2 separate regions of the Homo sapiens genome follow, and region 1 is linked to region 2. Evidence: promoter capture Hi-C in 16 types of primary human blood cells and fetal thymus (Javierre and others, 2016). All regions are on one chromosome and are shown on one strand. The core of a region is centred on a gene start or on the middle of the fragment in contact, and the rest is flanking DNA. Distances in the headings are between cores, read along the strand shown.

The links. Contacts are between HindIII fragments. The CHiCAGO score rates a contact against its expected background, and 5 or more counts as called.
Region 1: a fragment that was not itself captured here is called in contact with the fragment with the promoter of FCRL5 in region 2 in 1 of 17 cell types (naive B cells); the score reaches 5.3 in naive B cells.

Annotation. Positions count from the first base shown.
Region 1 is chr1:157,793,859-157,799,084 of GRCh38, forward strand. FCRL1 (Fc receptor like 1) reads right to left here. Exons shown (of 11, transcript NM_052938.5): 8 at 4,303-4,385; 9 at 4,010-4,081; 10 at 3,243-3,274; 11 at 545-2,312. The coding sequence ends at 2,241. Among named protein-coding and RNA genes, the nearest start is that of FCRL2, 19 kb to the left of the region's middle. The HindIII fragment of the contact is 309 bases long and covers 1,592-1,900 here.
Region 2 is chr1:157,549,263-157,554,076 of GRCh38, forward strand. FCRL5 (Fc receptor like 5) reads right to left here and starts at 3,253. Exons shown (of 17, transcript NM_031281.3): 1 at 3,070-3,253; 2 at 298-318. The coding sequence starts at 3,100. The HindIII fragment of the contact is 25,493 bases long and covers 1-4,814 here.

The DNA of each region.
Region 1 (5,226 bases), core at 496-2,995, 240 kb after region 2:
ATGACAGAAATATAGGAAAGTTAGAAACCAAGATTTGAAAAACTTGAGTTTAGCTGTGCAAAAACTAACCTTCAGTATTTTAGAATTCACTGTAAACAAAAAGTGAAGTGAAAGATTGCACAAAAACATTGTCATCGCATACAATGGAGAAATGGTCAAAAGCATAATGTTCAGTAGTTGTTTCTAGAGTGGCATAAATAGACTGGACATGAGTATGAGGGAACTTTCTGGAGTGATGAAAATAGTTTATCTCATGATAAGGGTTTGGATTACTCAAATGCATGCATTTGTCAAATTGATGGAACTATGCACATAAAATCTATGCATTTCACTGTTATAAATTAAGCCTTAATAAATCATTCCTATAAAAACTGTAAGAAAAACACAAATGACATAGAAGATGGGCAAAGGCTGAACAGAGGACAGTTTCTCTCTCCTGCTGCCATGTGAAGAAGGACATGTTTGCTTCCCCTTCTGCCATGATTGTAAGTGTCCGGAGGCCTCTCTAGCCATTTGGAACTGTGAGTCAATTAAACCTCTTTCCTTTATAAATTACCCAGTCTTGGATATGTCTTTATTAGCAATGTGAAAACTAAGTAATACACCCCACAAACTGATTTCCCAGACGTTGTTGGTGAAGATATAAATTGATACAGCCTTACCTGAGAGACATTGAAGACTATTTAACAAGAATATTTAATATGCATAATCTAGCAATACTAGATTTACAAATTTATCCTTCAGATAATCCAGCAGGAGTGCCATAATATGCTAGTACAAAGACATTTGTTTGAACTTTGTTTTTATAATATGAATTTTTTGAGAGTCTCCTTAATGTCCACCAGTGATGAGAAGGATTAAAATATATTATGATAGTACTTAATGCCACTGAATTGTACACTTAAAAATGGTTAAAATGATCAATTTTATGTTGTGCATATTTACTACAATAAAAAAAGAAAAAAGTTATGATTTATCTATATAACACACTACTATAGAGACTTTTAAAATAGTATAATAGATCTATTTACAGATTTGAAAGTATTTCATAATAGTTTGTTAGATAGGTACACTTCTAAATGTTTATATACTTACATGTATGCATAAGTATACATACAAAAATAGAAAAATATCTAGAGAGCTACCTGTAAAGTTTTTAACAATAGTTAACATTTGTGTTAACTTACAGGAAAGACTTTAACTTTTTACTTTATATACCTCCAAATGTTTATTAATTCATAAGAGTGAGTGCCTGGTTATTTTAAAATTCAATACATTGCTTGAGCCCAGGAGTTTGAGACCAGCCTGGGCAAAACGGTGAAATCTTGTCTCTACGTAAGACAAAAAATGGCCAAGTTTGGTGGCATGTGCCTGTAGTCCCAGCTACTCAGCAGGCTGAGGTGAGAGGTTTGCTTGAGCCTGAGAGGCAGGCGTTGCAGTGAGGCAAGATTGTGCCACTGCATTCCAGATTGAGTGACAGAGTGAGACCCTGTCTCAATTTAAAAAAAAAATAATTAAGATACAGGTTTCAAACCATATTACCACGATTTCAAAAATTTTGTGAATAAAAGAAGACACACTGTATTTATAAAGCTTCTAGGGGCTGTAATAGATACATAATTTTGGATGTGGTATAGGTTGGCCTATATATACAAAAATACGTCACTAAAATTAAGTGGAGTCACAATAACTTTTTATGTAACTTTGTTTTAGTTCTAATTTGGTAACAGTGACTCAAAATAAATAGAATCATATTTTAGGTGGAAACTCGATGATCCATGTAAGTAGCGGGGCTGGAGTTCTGTGCTGTCTGGGCAGAGAAAGCACTTGGACTGAATGATGGGCACAGCTCTCTCTGTGAAGTCCTGCAGAGTCACTAACCTTGAGTTCATGTGCTCTAAGCTTCACTGTCCCTCCAACCCAAGATCCCAATTTCTTTTATTCCATCTTGTTTCCTCTTGTAAACAGAAGAGCACAATATGACCTGTTTTCAAAGGAGCCGGCAGGAATCTGGTTCTGATAACAAAGTCCCTGTCACTCCTGTGTCTATTAGTTCTCCTAGGTAGTTTCTTCAGGGCTGCGCCAACTTCACTTCACAGTAGATGAAGGAATAGTGCCATGGAGAATGGCATCCAGAAGAGGTATACTGGAAAGCTAATGCCCCAGGATCTCTGAAGAACATATCAGGCCTGAGGCTTGGGGTCATGGATGGTTTTCAAAGAGCAGAATCTTCCATAACCTTACATAGCATCTTCATAGTCCACATCTGTAATGTTTGCTTTCCTCAGCCTGGAATAGATGTCTAAGGAAACCTGGAAGCAAAGATTAGGACTAGAGCAGGGAAGACAAGCAGAACATGCCTCCACTGGTCCCCTTCCCCAGTTAGCTTGGATGCATCTTATCATGGCACATCACGCAATGCAAAAATAAGGGCCTCTTGGAAAACTGTGGTCCAAGGCCAGCATTTTTAGAGTGCCTGTATCCCACTGGTGGACTACAAAGATGCTCCTGATAAGCTGCAAACTGATGCAAACATACAGTGCCTTCGCTCATTCTTATGGGCCTTTGTTAGGCAGGCCCATGGGCTGTCATTTTTTAAAAGGTTGTCAGAATTTTATATTCATAAATTAAATGTAGCATGTCACTGGACTTCACCAAGGATTTGAATTTTGTTCTGAGATATCTGGCTGCCACACCACACTAGACAAAACTGCAAAGCACCTACTGTTTTTGCACACATGCACAGAGCTGGAATTTCTGCAGTTTTAAGAAAGTATTTTTGTATCAGTGGTGATACCTTGAATTATTCAAAGTTTACCAAATGCTAATTTTTAGTGACACAAATTACTATTAGCTTAGGTTTGTTCAATATTAATTTAGTTGCTGTAGATTGTTTGGTTAACCTTATAGTACAAAGTGATGGATGTATGGCTCAACAATATTTTAGGATAAAGATTTTCCAATAAATAGAATTTTTAGACTAGGTATGCACTGCAGTTTAGCTAAAAATCATTCATGTGTCCATTGCTAAAGTAAATGTATTTGTAAGCCTTCAAACTTTCCTTGTACAATGACCCCTTATTGTTGTAACTATGTGTTTTTACCTCCATTGCTTTGGGATGTAGGGAAGAGGTAGACCATGGGATTTTTGCTCTTTCTAAGTGGCTATAATTTAAGAAGTTTGAGAACCAGTCCCCAGAGGAAAGAAAGAACATGGAAGAAAGAACAATAGAGACTCTTACCTTGTCCTCCATATGTGTCCCCAGGGTTTCTGCTGTGGAGAAAAGACAAGTGCTGTGACATTCCACTTATATTTAAAGTCCTTCACTAAACTTGTGTTAAGAAAAGCTTCTTCCTCTCCCATCTATTTCCCATGAATTGATTTCCATTAATATTTTCTGTCTTGCTTTTCTGTTTATCACAAATGTGATTCCCTTAGTAGCCAGAGGAAAATTGGTAGCCTGGGGGTGGGAGGGTAAGTAGACCCTCTATGCCAGGAGGGGCCTTTATACCTCTCAGCTATTCTGGGCTCACCATGTGTAGGATGGGACAAGAGCACCAGCTAGGCAGCTGTGATGGGGTTATGAGGAGTATGTCAGGCTACTTAAAGAGGGCAGGCAGAAGCCATCACCTCTGATGCTGCCACATGACTGGGGAGCGAGGCATAAAATGTAGGCCATACAATGACACCTTATTGTAACTACATGTTTTACCTCCATCGTGTTGGGAGGTCAGGAAGAGGTAAGCCATGGGATTTTTGCTCTTTCTAAGTGACTATAATTTAAGAAATTTGACAGCCCATCCCCAGGGGAAAGAAAGAACCTTAGCATTAGCTCTGGGCTCTACTCAAGGTAGCTCCAGACCCAAGGACAGCCATTAAGTACACACAGTGATGCTCACAGCCTTCTGCTCTGAGGAATGCTGTTGTCTGCCATGCACAGCCACTGATTGTTCTCTTGGTTCTGGGAAAGACAAAAGTCAGAGACAAATTTACTCCCCCATGTCTCACCTGCTACTGATTCCTGCTCCGGCTGGTTATAGTACGCCAGTGAATAAACCTCATCCCCACTTACAACATTCACTGCAAGAGAAGGAGGGAGACTTCATGACACAGCCCCTGATTCCTGTCTTTCAAATTACTCCATACCTTCCACCTGTCACAGCCATGAAGACAGATGAGTCATTTGTTTGTAGCAGAGGCTAGGGCACAGCAAAGTCAGGTTTGGCTAGCAGATGTTATCCCATTGTCCCTTCCCTAGCTTGCTGTACCATCGTTGGCCTGGGCCATTTGGGAAGGCTCACCATTTTCATATATAGGCTGTAGCTGCCCTGGGGTAGGTGAGTTGAGGTAGGTGAACTCTTGGGGTAGAGGGCTGGGAAGGCTCCTGCAAACACAGAGACACATGTTATTTATCTGAAATTGCATCCCAGATCATGCAGATATCACACTGAAGGAGAGAAGCCTGTGACAAATTGTCCTGAGCAGAATACTAAGTTACGGGGAAATGAGCAGCTAGAAGGCACAGCAGTGTGGTATGAGTCACGGCTCTGTGCACATGCTGAGTGGGGCACCGCAGAGCATGCACCAGCGGGTAACTCCATGAGCGTAAGGTGTGGTATTTCCCATTCCCAGAATAGTGTCATTCACATCATGAGTGCTCCCTAAATATTAAATGAATAAATATTGATTCACTCCAGATGGAAAACACTTTGCTGGGCAGAACAAGCAACTTGAGGAAGGGGCAGAAGAAAATGCTCCTTCATGTGCGGGTACCAGTGAAAAGTGCTACTCTCATTTGAAAAAAAAAAGAATACCTGTTTATTGTTGGCATAAATGATAATACATTATATTAAAAAGACAACTAAACATTGGGATCTCTAGATGGAAGTAGTTTAAAAAATATTTTCTTCCTCTAAACATCTAAAGAACTTCACCAATAACTGTTCAGTATGTTCATTCCTGTCTGTCTTACATTCCAGAAATGTACATGTATCTTACCTACCCTAAAATACTTTAAAACTCTCAAGAGTTTTTTATATTTTCACATTTGTCAGCACTCAACAGAATGACTTACAGATCCTCAAATATTGGTTGACTGATTGAGTGAATGCATGATCCTGGTGAAAGCTATGTGATTATTTACTTATTTATTTATTTATGAGACAGAGTCTTGCTCTGTCACCCAGGCTTAAGTGCAGTGGTGCCATCTCGGCTCACTGCAACCT
Region 2 (4,814 bases), core at 2,003-4,502:
CATCACACTCCAGGGCCTGTTGTGGGGTGGGGGGAGGGGGGAGGGATAGCATTAGGAGATATACCTAATGTTAAATGACGAGTTAGTGGGTGCAGCGCACCAACATGGCACATGTATACATATATAACAAACCTGCACGTTGTGCACATGTACCCTAAAACTTAAAGTATAATAAAAAAAAGGAAAGAAAACAGGAGATATTGGAGATCTCAGGCAGCCATCACAAATGTTTTCTATTTATTAGGAAGAGACACTCTTAACCAGAGACGCTGAAGAGCCAAAGACAGGAGAACTCACCAAACTGTCCACTGACAGGAGCTGCAAAAAAATAAGAGCCAGAGATGAGCACAGAACCATGATTATTTTGTTTTAAGAAGATAATTCCCTTTTTTACCCATGCATGTATTACTTGTCCCTTTAAAAAATTCATTTAAAAACTCTAATAATTATTCATCAAATGTATATATATACACATAAATATACATATATATACATATATATATGGCATGGTATTTGGACTTCTACAATGAATTTTAAAAATGGTATCTGCCATCAAGAAGTTGACTAGTGGAAAAACAGAAACACGATTTAAAATAATATAACACAGGGTGTAAGTGCAATAACAGAAATACACATGGGGTATGTTGGGGGCAGAAGGGCCACTAGCCCAGTGTGTAGGATATATGTGTGTGTGTAGAGTGTGTGTTTGTGTGTACATGTGTTGAACAGGATGGGTGGATCCTTGAAGGTACCTGAAGGAGATGATACTTCACAAAACTGTGAGTGAGAACATGAGTCTGCAGGTGGATGTTAGCATTTGTGTGTGGTAAGAGGCGATTTCTACCTTTCAAGGTAGAAAGGGCACAGAAGTGGAGAAATGACATTGGTGCTCAGGAACTGGGAGTGTTGGGGGAAATAAGACCAGAGAAGCATGCAGGGCCTGAGTAAGTGGTTCTAATTTTATTATAAAAGTGATAAGGAGTCATGGAATGGTTTCAAGGAGGAGATTGACAAGGTTAGAATTTCAGACTTTGATGGAGCACTCTGTCAGTGGACAGAATTTAATGGGACAATATGAAGCAGGGAGACTGATTAGAAGGCAGGGCAAGGAAATGGACATGAATTAAGCCTCCCTTGGGCACCAGACTCCAGGCTATACTCTTTTCATGAGATCATTGAATCCAAGGGCTCATTATCATCATGCCTAATTTTTAAACAATCAACTGATGCTCAGATTATTTAGACCTGATGCTCAGCCCAAGAGATGGTAATGTGTAATTTTTGTCAGAGTATTTATCCAAATTATCTTCATTATCTGCTTGTTTATTTTCCCTTCTCTATAATGCAAGCTCTATGAGACCTAGGACTTTCCTTATGTTCACCATATATCCTCCAGGACCTATAACGGTGAATGGCATATAAAAGATATTCCTTTAATGTTCACTAAATATATTTGTGTTGTATAATGAATTAATTAAAGAACTAGGTTAATAATATAGGAATAGAAGGATAGAGATTTGAGAAATGGGTAATGAAGAGAGAGAGGACACAAAACTGGCAGGTTTATCAATTGAGTAGGTATTCTGCATATGGGTTGATTTATTTATTCAACAGATTTTTGGAATGCCAATCATACTCCAGAGCAAGGCAATAGAAATCCAGGAGTGTGTGAGAGACAAATCATCCCTGTCCACATGAGGCTATTGGAGACTTATCCAAACTTAAGTGTTTTACTGAGAACAACAAATTATTCACCATTCACCTGAATATTTTGGCTTCCTTCATCTTTGCATTGTTTTAAATGAAGCTAATATTTTTGTGAGTGGTTTCTATATGGTCTGCATTTACGTAGGTTATTTCATATAACCATGTCAATAATCCTGTGAGGTAAGCACTAGGATTAACTGCATTTTGTAGACCAGGAATCTGGTAGCCAGTAGGTGGCAAGATGAAGTTTGAACCTAGATCCTGTTTGACCCCAGAGCCCATGTTATAAACTTTGCCCTCTCATGCTCAGGACCTGGCCATTACCCACATTGTGTGGGGCCACACTGAGATGTATTCCTACTTCAGGAATTATAGTCCATGCACCTTCCAACTGTGAGGTCCTCTTTTCTTATATCACGCCTGCTCCATTTCTGCTCCTCTAGCTCCTACTCACCTCTAAGTTTCATGAAGTCTTTACTAGCTATTTTGAATACAGTTTATTATCTGCCTACAGCATTCATTGGTAACTTTGCCTGGACAATTATTTAACTGGGAGCTTGTTGCATAGCTGCTTGAAAGTACATTGGCCTTGCTGGGAGCCCTTCTATGTCATGACTTTCCAGAACATAGACGTAGTGTCTCCTATGGACTCTAATTGCTCAGCACCTGTGCATAGATATTACTAAACACATTTGCTGAACAAATAAATAAACATATTTAATTATAATATTTAACCTTTAGTAAAAATCAACCAGTTCGCACATATGAGTTGATAGAGACTTACGTACACCCACAGGGACAAAGAGAAAGTCATATGCTTTAGATTTATCCTTGCTTTGTCCACCTACGCCTCTGCGACCTCCTCCACCCCATGTTCTTAATCAGCCAATTGCTGCAGTGGTTTGCAATTATGTACAAGAGAAAGACCTGTCTTTCCCGTTAGAAACCTTGCCTCTTATGCTGGGGACCAGGATCTGGCCTTGTCATACAAGGAATAAATACATCTCCTCTGCAGAGAGGAGAGTGGGCTCTTCTATGAGTAAGACAATATGAACAAACAAACATGAAACATTCTCTGGACTTTAAGAAGTACTTTTTAAAGAAAAAAATAAATGAAATTTTAATTGTTGTGGTTATTGTGGTTTCCTACTCTGTAAGATTGAAAATTCCTTCCAGCTGTGGCCATTTTCTTCAGCCTCAAGAGAAAGCCCTGAGCTACAGAGTAAAGTTCAAAAATACAGTCTCCTAATGTAGGAGAGAGTCTCTCAGCAGGGGCTGAGCCCCAAGAAAGGACCAGGCCTGCGGTGGAGAGAGAAGCTGTCCCGATCCCACCCAGGGCCCATGGTGAGCCCTTTTACTCACCCAGGACCAGTAATATCACCCACAGCAGCATGAAGACCTGGACCACCAAGGGCTGAGATCAAAAGAGAAGTTTCCTCAATTCCAAAACAGGTTTGGACTTGATCTTACAGTCAGGACACTGCACACCAGCTCCAAGGAGCACATCTGAGAAGCTGTGCTCTCAAAAAGAGCAGAATGCATTAGTGAATTGAAAAAAGGAAGTGGGAGTACCCGTCTTCAGCTGCTAATCACAGTTTCCTACCCGATGATCAAAGAAAAAAAAAAGTTAAGGTTTTAAAAAATCAAATACCCTTGACCCTACATTTTTGCTATTGGGAAATTACCCTGAAGGAAGTATCTGAAGAGAGTACTATAAGAACGTTTATTGTAGCATTCATTATTGCCTAAACACTGGAAACAAAACAAAAAACCATGATATGGGGACTGTTTAAGAATATTCTGATTCATCCGTATGGTGACAAGCAATCATTAAAGAATAAGGTAAATCTGAACATGCCAAGAAGGGAAGACCACCTTGTTTGATGTGAAGAGAATAAAAGTGAGATATAGATTGGTTTTGTAGTATTATCCCATTGGGTAAATATAAAAAATAGGATATATGTGTACATCAACTCTTTTAAGTATACTTTCTTCTTTTCCTGGAAAGTACACACAAAAATATTGATTATGTTTGAGGAGCAATAGGTGGGAAGAACACAATTTATTTTATGTATTTCTGTACCGTTTGATTTTTTAAAAAATTACCAGGTGAATGTATAGCTCTTATGATTTTCTAAAAGTCAAGTTTCCATCCTGGTATACTGGTCAACAGAGGTTCCTAAGACATTAGCTGCCACGAGGAGTGCCAGTTTCTTTCTTTCAAATATTTTCTCACCCTTTCTCTCTGGGCCCATACCTTGGTCTTCCTAAGGGGGCATTTAATTTTATATCTACAAATGCACATCACCTTAGGTATATTATGTCACATCTGACCCACTGCACCCTGAGGCAAGAAAACCATACAGGGGTTACAGGGGTGAATAGAGATTAAGAGGAGAACTTCAAAGGGAACACAGAATCTTTACCTACTTTTGGTGCTAAAACAAATAGTGCTGCTATGAACATTCTTGTATACATTTATTGGGGCATATGCGCACATAATTCTGTTGGGTATATATCTGGGAGTGGAAGTCCTGGCTCATAAGGTATGCATATATTCAGTTTAGGAAGTATTACCAAATTATTTTCCAAAGTGGTTGTGCCAATTCCCACCACACCCACCAACCAATGTATGAGAGTTATCATTGTTCTAAAATTCTTGCTGATATTGGTATTGTCATCTAGTAAAATCTGGCCGTTCTGCTAGAATTATCTCAATGTGGTTTTAATTTGTATGTCTCTGGTGAATTTGAGAATGAGCATTTTTTCATAGTCTAATTGGTGATGTAGATATCCTTTTTATGTGCAATCTCTGTTCAAATATTTCCTCATTTTTCTCTTAACTTTCAGTCTTTCTTTTCCTGTTTTGTAGTTATTTTAAACCCTGAATATAAACCTTTTGTTGGATATATGTATTGCAAATGTCTTCCTTCAATCTGTGGCTTGCTTCTTTGCTCATTGATAGTGCCTTTTGATGAACAACCATTCTAACTTTGACATAGTCCAGTTTATCAGTCTTCTCCTTTGTGGTTAGAGATTTTTGCATCCCTTCTAAGAAAGTTAGTCTACTCCAAGATCATAAAGATACTCTCCCAGGTTATCTTCTA